Linked DNA regions of Homo sapiens: regions 1 and 2 are each linked to region 3. The links are contacts of gene promoters, found by promoter capture Hi-C in blood cells and fetal thymus (Javierre and others, 2016). All regions are on one chromosome and are shown on one strand. Each heading gives the region's core, a stretch centred on a gene start or on the middle of the fragment in contact. The rest is flanking DNA. Distances are from core to core; before and after follow the strand shown.

Region 1 (2,952 bases), core at 269-2,768, 8.5 Mb after region 3:
GTAGCTGGGATACAGGCATGCGCCACCACGCCAGGCTAATTTTTGTATTTTTAGTAGAGATAGGGTTTCACCACGTTGGTCAGGCGGGTCTTGAACTGCCGACCTTGTGACCCATCCACCTCAGCCTCCCAAAGTACTGGGATTGCAGGCATGAGCTGCTGCACCCGGCCTGTCTTGGACATTATTACCTCTTGGAACCTCCCCTGACCCTCACAATATGGCTTAAGAGCACAGACGCTGAAAATAGCCTGGGTTCAAATCAATTCTTAGTCACTTATTGCCCCCAGAACCTTAGGTTACATAATCCCTCTCTGTGACTCAGTGTCTTCCTCTGTAAAATGAGGACGATAACAGCACCTACCTCATAGGTGAGGATCAAGTGAATTTAATCTCCTGTTTAACGGAGTTTAATCAAGTGAGGATCAAGTGAGTTTAAGCTCCTAAAGCTTCTAGAATAGATTCTTAGAACAGCAATGTGGCCGGGCGCCGTGGCTCACGCCTGTAATCACAGCACTTTGGGAGGCCGAGAGGTGCGGATTGTCTGAGGTCAGGAGTTCGCGACCAGCCTGGCCAACATGATGACACCCCATACCTACTAAAAATGCAAAAATTAGCCGGGCGTGGTGGAACATGCCTGTAATCCCAGTTACTCAGGAGGCTGAGGCACGAGAATCGCTTGAACCTGGGAGGCGGACGGAGGTTGCAGTGAGCCAAGATCGCGCCACTGCACTCCAGCCTGGGCCACAGAGAGAGACTCTATCTCAAAAAAGAAAAAAAAGAACAGCACCTCACCCATGAAGTCCCTGATAAATGTCAGCTTTTAGCATTATCGCTAATTGTCCTGATACGCAGATCTCGAGTTGCCCTAGGCTATCTGCACCGAATGAATATACCATGAGGGTCTGTTGATCTCAGGAGTCTCCAGTCTGGCTCTAAAGTGTCTTTCCTGCTCTAATCCTATCCTCCAATGTAAAGGAAACATTCTTTTAAGCCTGAAGAATATCCCCAATCCTGTTCGCCATTACCCCAAAACACACACAGGGACAAAACGGGACATCACTAGATTCTCCCCCTCCCCCCGCCAACTCCATCGGACTCCAGGGCCCTGCCAGGCCTGAGGGACCCCAGATTAGCCTTACCGCCGTGCCCCAACTCAATCAACAGGCCTCCGGTACTTGCACAGCCCCACTCCATTCCCCCGCCCTGCCCCCAGCTCCATCAGCCCCCGGGCCCTGCGCCCGCCCGCCCGCCCGCCAGGCCAGGCCGCCCGCTGACCGGTCCTGGAGCTGTAGGTCGGGTCGCTCCCGAGGCTCCTCATAGAAGCTGATGCCCGGGTGCGTGGCGAGGGCCCGCCAGAGAAACTCCTGCGTGCAGGGTTCCAAAGGCAGCGGGAAGGGCGGCACTCGCGTCTCCAGCCGGCTCCACAGCGCTGGCAGACACAGGCCATCGAGCCCCTCCAGAGCGACTTCGTCCAACAACGACTCCAGCGCGTCCATTGCTACTTCAGTCGGCGGCGCCCGGGGCGCATGCGCAACGCACCGCCAAGGGCCTTGGTCCATCGCGCCTGCGCACAACGATCCGGGGCCCGGGGAGGTGGGTCAGACCCAGGGTTCGGAGGAGGAGTTCCAGCGCGCCGGCATGACGTCACTCCCCGGGGGCGGGCTCAGTAAGTGGAGCTCCACCGTCATTGGTCCGGGGCCCCGCAGTAACCAGGGGAACTGCAAACAGTGTAGAGGCCGCTTCCGGTTCGAGCTCCCGGAACCGCCGCCTCTAGGGATGGACGGTGAGTGTCTGTGGGCCCCTCCGGGAGGTCGGGCTGTTATTCTCCCATCCCTCCCGACCGCGCTTTGGGCAGAATCCTAGGCCATGAACCCCTGGACCACCACTTCCTGACCCAAGGGGGTCTCCGAAATGAGGGATAGGGAGGCTTAGTGGTCTGGAACGCGGAGGAGAGCCTGGGGGAGTGGTCAGTGCTGTGACCATTCTGCTCGGCTGTGGTCGTGAAGGAAACCGGTACTGGCCGGGAGCTCAGTGAAGGGATGTAGGGTGGGGAAGGAGAAGTAGAGGTCTGAGGAGGGTCTTGTGAATGTTGGGATGTGGAACTGTCGGATTTGGGAGTTGATATGAAAACAAGCTTGATCGTGGGAGTGCAATCGTCAGGTGCTGGGAAAGGGAATTGGTGTGGGGGGTGAAGGGAGTTTAGGAAATACTCCCTTTCTGTGCCTTGGCGTTAATAATAATAGCTCCCTTTAACAAAGTGCTTTCCAGTACCAAGAACTCTGTAAGTACTCTTGGGCAACACCTCGCTAAGCTTCATACCAGCCTTTTGAGTTCAGCGTTGTTCCATTTTACAGATGATGAAACTGAGGCTCAGAGGTGTTAAGGAACTTGCCCAAAGTCAAACAACCAGCATGTAGCAGAGTGAGTGAGAAACCCAGACACCCTGTCTCTGGAGCTGAATTATGGAGCTTGAGATTTGGACCGGTTTTGAGGGTCCCTTTATTCCAGAGGTTGTAAATGCAGATGTCTGCAGAGGAGAGTCTAGTGAGCCGGATTGAGGCTGTAACTGAAAATCAATTCCTCACCTGAAAGGAAAGCTGCTCACCAAGCACCAGCTGATTGTCCTCTTGGGGTACTTCTCAAAAACAGGGTTGGCCAGTCACTCTGAAGGCCAGAGACAGCTTGTGGGCCCCCATTTAGGGATCCCTGATTAGAGTCATGGTATTGACAATTGGAAGCAAATGGAAAATAGGCTATTCTGATATCTCACTTTGCAGATGGGAAGACTAAAGTCTAGAGAGACTGGTAGGGTCTGGGCTAGAGTCCAGATCATTTTTCTAATTACAGCACTGTCCCTCACTTCTCGGGAATTTGTTCCTGGGGAATCCACATTCTTTTTATATTCACTGAATGTAGTGTGGAGAAAATGTTTTTAATTGAACATTCTGTCAT
Region 2 (2,700 bases), core at 106-2,605, 5.1 Mb before region 3:
ACTACCACTAGGTGTCAGTAATATCCTGTGACTTTCAGTTACAGTGCAACCTAATTAGGCAGAGAGCAATGTGAATTTATGCAACGTTGAAGTCTGGCTTATCTGTAGCTCCTAATGAAAAATGCCAAATTCCCTCCTCCTTTCTGATCAAAGCCCACCGAATAATGAAGCTGGAGCTGTTACTGATGCTTGGCTGAGTGGAATGTAAATGAATGCCAAAAATGAATTCTTTTGAATTCTTTCATCCCCTGGGATCATCCCCCAGGACTGACCAAAGAGCAGTGCGTGAAGTGCAGGTAACCCTCTGGAAAGGCTGAATCCCCCAGCCCCAACTTCTTCACCTGTCACCACCCATTATTACCACCACACCCCACCCTGGGAATCCCTGCTAACCAGAACTCCTAACACGTGGGAGAACTATATAAATATCTGGTGAGGTTGTACCTTGAAAAGAACAGGACAGGAGGATGCTTTCATTGCCAAAACTGACCCTGACATCTCCAGACAGAACTAAGAACACACTTTCTGGGAAATATATATGTATTTTTCAGTTACACTTTTGATTTGTGTACCCAGTGCTGTGCCTCCACTTTATATTCATTCAACAAATATTTAACTCACTAAGGGTCCCTTGTTTGGCAGGAAGGGTGCTGAAGATAGACAGATGAATGGGACAGTATGGTGAACTCGTGAGTTAGACTGCTTCTGGGTTTGAGTTATCTTCATCTTGCACCAGCTGTGTATTTTTAGGCAAGTTTCTTAATTTCTCTATGCCTCAGCTTACTCACCCGTACATTGGTGATAAAGATAGTACCTTCCTCCTAGGATTGTCAGGGTGAAATGAAATGCTTATATGTAAAATACTTGGTAGCATGGCACATAGTCAGCATTCTATGATCTCTGTGATCTCTGCCTGTTGGTGTTACGATGTTCCTGTTCTCGGGCAGTTTAATGGAGGAGACAAGTAAAGAAGTAGTTATAGTACAGTATGGGTACAAAATGTCATAGGAACAAAAAAAACTAAAGTAGGCTTTTGTGGAGCTAAAACTCCTCCCAAAAACCTAACCTGCTTCTATTATTTTTATTTTTTGAAAAAGGAGTGTCTTGAGTTGGTGTGACTAAATAGGAATAACATGATTTTACACATGATTTGGAACCTTCGGCCTCCCACTTGCTTGCTGGATGACCTTGGTTAAGTTGCTTCCCTTCCTTGGTCTCATCATGATACCTACTGCATGGAATTATCATAACAATTAAATGAAATGAAAATCTATAGAAACACCTAACCCAGTTACCTGGGATGTAGTATCAGTTCTCTTCTTCCTCCTGGGTTCCAACCAAAATAAAGACAACTTTTTGGAGCGCAACATTTTCTTAAATTGAGTTTCTCCTTTTCTTTGGAAGTTCATTTTTATTATTCTTGACTCTACGTAATATTTCAATCCAGGCTAACAAAATGTGGCCTCTTAGAGTCCTTGGGAAAACCCACCAATTAGGTACAGAATATTTTCTGAGTAGTAAATTAGTTATGTACGTGTATTGGGGGGGTTATTGAAAATCCTTTGTCTATGAATTCCTAAATAACATTATTAATTTTTACTATATTTGGAAGATAATTTGCTGAGCTAGAGTAAATTTAGCTCCATCCACCTCTATCCAAAACTTAAACATTAAAATAGTAAAATCTGAGTTTAGTTTATTGAACTATTAGAAGGGTCATAAATCACTGTTAGTATTATTGTCCATACCCTTCCAGATATGAGAACTGGATCAAAAGCATGCAAGTACCATTATGCCAAATATATATAAGGTAACCAGCTTGATTTAGGTCTAAAAGACAGACTCGTCTTGGAGTAATTGTGGTTTTGATCTAGAAAGCATGTCTGTATGCCTTTATGTCATCTCATGTTTCTCCCTAACTTAGCACTAATCACACTGCATCAGATGACACAATATATATGAAAGATCTGGGTCAGTAGTCTCATTTCATAAATAACAAAGCATGTATAATTGTTCTTATTTTTGAGATGCTGAGGTGTTATAATCATGTACACCCCCAAAGACATGTATAAGTATGTCGATTGAAGGTTTTTGTTTTAAATGGACTAATTTACCTCTGAATTGACTATCTTCTGATTCTGAAAATTGAATTCATCTCATAGGTAATGTAGATGTTGCCCAGACTTCTAAAATGTGGCTATTTTGTATAGTCCACATCTGATTCATACATTAAAAAAAAAAAATTCATGACCTACTTTGCTTTCAGAAATTCTTCCTCTGACATGCCAGAAACACCCCACCCCAGGGCCTGTGCCCTCACTGTCCCCTCAGCCTGGCAGCCTGGAACTCTCTTGGCCCAGATGGTCACAAGGCTCCATCCAGCCTTTATTCAGATACCACCTTGGTGAGACCACCCCTCATACATACTCCCTCTCCTCCTTCTCTGATTCATTTTTTCTTCTCAGCACTTGTAGCATCCTAAATATTTTACGTATTTATATTGTTTATAGTCAATTCCTTGAGGACAGGGATTTATCTCTGTTCTGTGCGTGGCTATATGCCCAGTCTAGAATGGTGCTTATTCATTCTCTTGTAAGTACTTAAGAAAAATGTGATGAATGAATGGCAATTACCTACCTGTTCTGTAGTTTAAATTATGTTTCTCCCCCTCAGGCATCTTGGTGTATAGAGCCCACAGAA
Region 3 (2,856 bases), core at 272-2,771:
GGAGGATCACTTGAGGTCAGGAATTTGAGACCAGCCTGGCCAACACAGCGAAACCCAGTCTCAGCTGGGCGTGGTGGTGTGTGTACCTGTAATCCCATCTACTTGGGAGGCTGAGGCAGGAGAATCGCTTGAACCCGGGAGGCAGAGGTTCCAGTGAGCCAAGGTCTCCCCACTGCAATCCAGCCTGTGCGACAGAGTGAAACTCCATTTAAAAAGAACAAAAACAAAAAACAAAACAAAAAGGAAACAGAGACCTAGAAGTGGTATTACAGCAAAGGTTTTGAACATTTTAAGGCTTTTGAGCGCCAGATTCAGACACTCAGTAGTTTTACATGAGAGTGCTACAACATCCTCACTAAGTAGTATTTGGGTTCATCATAATTTTAAATTATTTTGGTGTGTCAATTTGAACACTAGAGTGATATAAAAACTAAAAACTTGAATTCAATAATTTTACAATTGTATTCCATCTTAAAATATTTTATGGTAAACTTGGATAAAGTATATAAATAATCCAAGGGTGTAAAGTAGAAAGTGAAAGCTCCCTTCTCCCAGTTCCAGCCCCCTGATGTTGCCAATATTAAACGTTGTATATCCTTGCAGACACGCATCTTTGATTTTTGCCCTCATGTACATTACTCATTTAAAAATTATTTCGTTGAGTAGATTCCTAAAAGTAAGACTGCTGTATTATATGATCTTTTTAAAGTATGTTGCTAAATTTCCCCTCCCTTCTCAAAAAATTCCAATTTGCACAAATATACATGCATACATGCACACAGTACATTAAGGTGGATACCAAGGATAAAACATGTTCTCTGTTTCTGAAAATAGAGAAAAGACCGGGAAGAAGTTTAAAGTTGGCTTTCAGCCCACCAATAGAGATAACACTATATAACACCATTAACCATGTGGTGCATGTAATTTAGATATACATATAATTTTATTTATTTATTTATTTTTCAGACAGGGCCCAGGCTAGAGTGCAGTGGCAGAATCACGGCTGACTGCAGCCTCGAGCTACCGGGCTCAAGCTATCCCCCCACCTCAGCCTCCCGAGTAGCTGGGACTACAGGTGTGCTCCACCAGACCCGGCTAATTTTTAAAATTATTTGTAGAGGCGGGGTCTCGCTATGTTGCCCAGGCTTACTATTTTAAAGTAGATGTAGGATACAAATAAAAAAAAAAATCTCCTTCCACGTAGGTAAAGCAGGAAATACCGTGCCTTGTTAATAAGTAATTCCCTCATGATCCTTTTCCCCAGGAACTTGGGTGAGAAATCATAACCTTGTCCTGATCTTTCTAAACAGCAATTTAGCATTTTCATCTCCCTGGCAACCCAAGGCGCCTTGGCCTTGGTCTTCCGAGTGATTGACAGTGACCCCACCCAATAAAATCTTTTTATTTGTCGTATCTAACCAATCTAACCCCTAGCGCAGAGCTAGGGGGCGTTCCCACCGGTGCGCGGGCGAGCTGAGCCTTCCTTACGTCTGCTGTGCGTCATCAGTCCGAGCCAAGGGCACTATTGGCCAGTTCCGTTCAACGAAGTGGTTGCTTTTTTTAGTTCCGGCAATGAGTTGCGCCGGGGCGGCGGCGGCTCCCCGCCTTTGGCGGCTGCGCCCGGGGGCCCGGCGGTCCCTCTCAGGTAAAAGGAGGCGCGCAGTCACAGTCCTGCGCCGGTCTAGCGAGCTAGGGAATTTTCGCTTGAGGTTTGGGTCGAAGAGGTCACGGGGGAGAGGTTCGTAACGTCACAGGCCTGCGACGGAGCGCGACTGCGTGACTTCGGCCTCCGGGGCGCTGGCGGGCGGGGCGGGGTCTGTAGTTAGCGGCGAGAGTGACAGGAGGACAGGGGTTGTTTCGGCAGTGACGCCTGGGGAGTGACGCAATTGCACCCCTGTGCAGTGATGTCACGGCAGGTGCGGCCAGCGTTCCGAGTCGAGGACAGTTGGCGACACTGAAAATTCAGCGTCTCCGGGAGTCTCTCTCTTTGTAGTCTTTGCCCAGGGCCTTGCCAGGCAAAGGGTAGCCCGACGACCAGCAGCCTCCGCTACTTCTGGGCGCTCGCTAGAAATACAGATTCTCGGGCCCCACCCCGACCTACTTGGTCGGTATCTGTGATCTGTGAACAGGACCTTTAGGTGATTTGCATGCACTGTAAACTGTGAAAGCCATCAGTGTAGTGGAAGGAGCATCGAATTTAGAGTAGAGAGACATGGTTTTGGACCCTGGTTCCTGCTTTCCTTGTTTCATCTGTGCTGCCTTAGAAAATTGTCATGAGCCCGGGCGCGGTGGCTCCGGCCTATAATCTCAGCACTTTGGGAGGCCGAGGCTGGAGGATCCCCTGAGGTCAGGAGTTTGAGACCAGCCTGGCCAACATGGTGAAACCCCGCCTCTACTAAAAATACAAAAATTTGCCAGGCGTGATGGCAGGTGCCTGTAATCCCAGCTACTCAGGAGGCTGAGACAGGAGAATCGCTTGAACCCGGGAGGCAGAGATTGCTTTGAGGCGAGATTGCACCACTGCACTGCAACCTGGGCGTCAGAGCGAGACTTTGTCTCCCCCGCGCAAAAAAAAAAAAAAAAAAGAAATTTCATGAAGTCGTTTTCTCAACGTTAAATTACCGTGTACCACTTTCGGGATTTTTGCCTAATGGCAGTACTGCTTGAACTTTTGATTACTAGATGTGTTTTTTTGTATAGCTATGTCCCATTTAAAAATTAAATTAATTTCCTTGAAACAAAATCCTTATGGTGAATGGGAAGCCAGTGCCACTTGCCACAAATGGGTGAGTAATCATTAAAAAAAAACAAACAAATTAAAAAGTTATGAAATTGTATTAAATACTGTCTTTCTGT

What was found. Contacts are between HindIII fragments. The CHiCAGO score rates a contact against its expected background, and 5 or more counts as called.
Region 1: the fragment with the promoter of GTF3C1 here is called in contact with the fragment with the promoter of COQ7 in region 3 in 1 of 17 cell types (fetal thymus); the score reaches 8.2 in fetal thymus.
Region 2: a fragment that was not itself captured here is called in contact with the fragment with the promoter of COQ7 in region 3 in 1 of 17 cell types (total CD4 T cells); the score reaches 6.4 in total CD4 T cells.

Annotation. Positions count from the first base shown.
Region 1 is chr16:27,548,395-27,551,346 of GRCh38, forward strand. GTF3C1 (general transcription factor IIIC subunit 1) reads right to left here and starts at 1,519. Exons shown (of 37, transcript NM_001520.4): 1 at 1,276-1,519. The coding sequence starts at 1,496. It overlaps KATNIP (katanin interacting protein), which reads left to right and starts at 1,750. Exons shown (of 28, transcript NM_015202.5): 1 at 1,750-1,783. The coding sequence starts at 1,777. RefSeq lists enhancers at 1,416-1,495, 1,506-1,615. The HindIII fragment of the contact is 1,688 bases long and covers 445-2,132 here.
Region 2 is chr16:13,923,888-13,926,587 of GRCh38, forward strand. It overlaps ERCC4 (ERCC excision repair 4, endonuclease catalytic subunit), which reads left to right. Exons shown (of 11, transcript NM_005236.3): 3 at 2,674-2,700. It overlaps LOC105371093 (a long non-coding RNA gene), which reads right to left. Exons shown (of 4, transcript XR_007065000.1): 1 at 2,638-2,700. Among named protein-coding and RNA genes, the nearest start is that of ERCC4, 5.1 kb to the left of the region's middle. The HindIII fragment of the contact is 2,829 bases long and covers 1-2,700 here.
Region 3 is chr16:19,066,093-19,068,948 of GRCh38, forward strand. It overlaps COQ7 (coenzyme Q7, hydroxylase), which reads left to right and starts at 1,522. Exons shown (of 6, transcript NM_016138.5): 1 at 1,522-1,645. The coding sequence starts at 1,573. COQ7-DT (COQ7 divergent transcript) reads right to left here and starts at 1,599. Exons shown (of 3, transcript NR_119381.1): 1 at 1,489-1,599. RefSeq lists a silencer at 1,546-1,705 and an enhancer at 1,736-1,885. The HindIII fragment of the contact is 11,366 bases long and covers 1-2,856 here.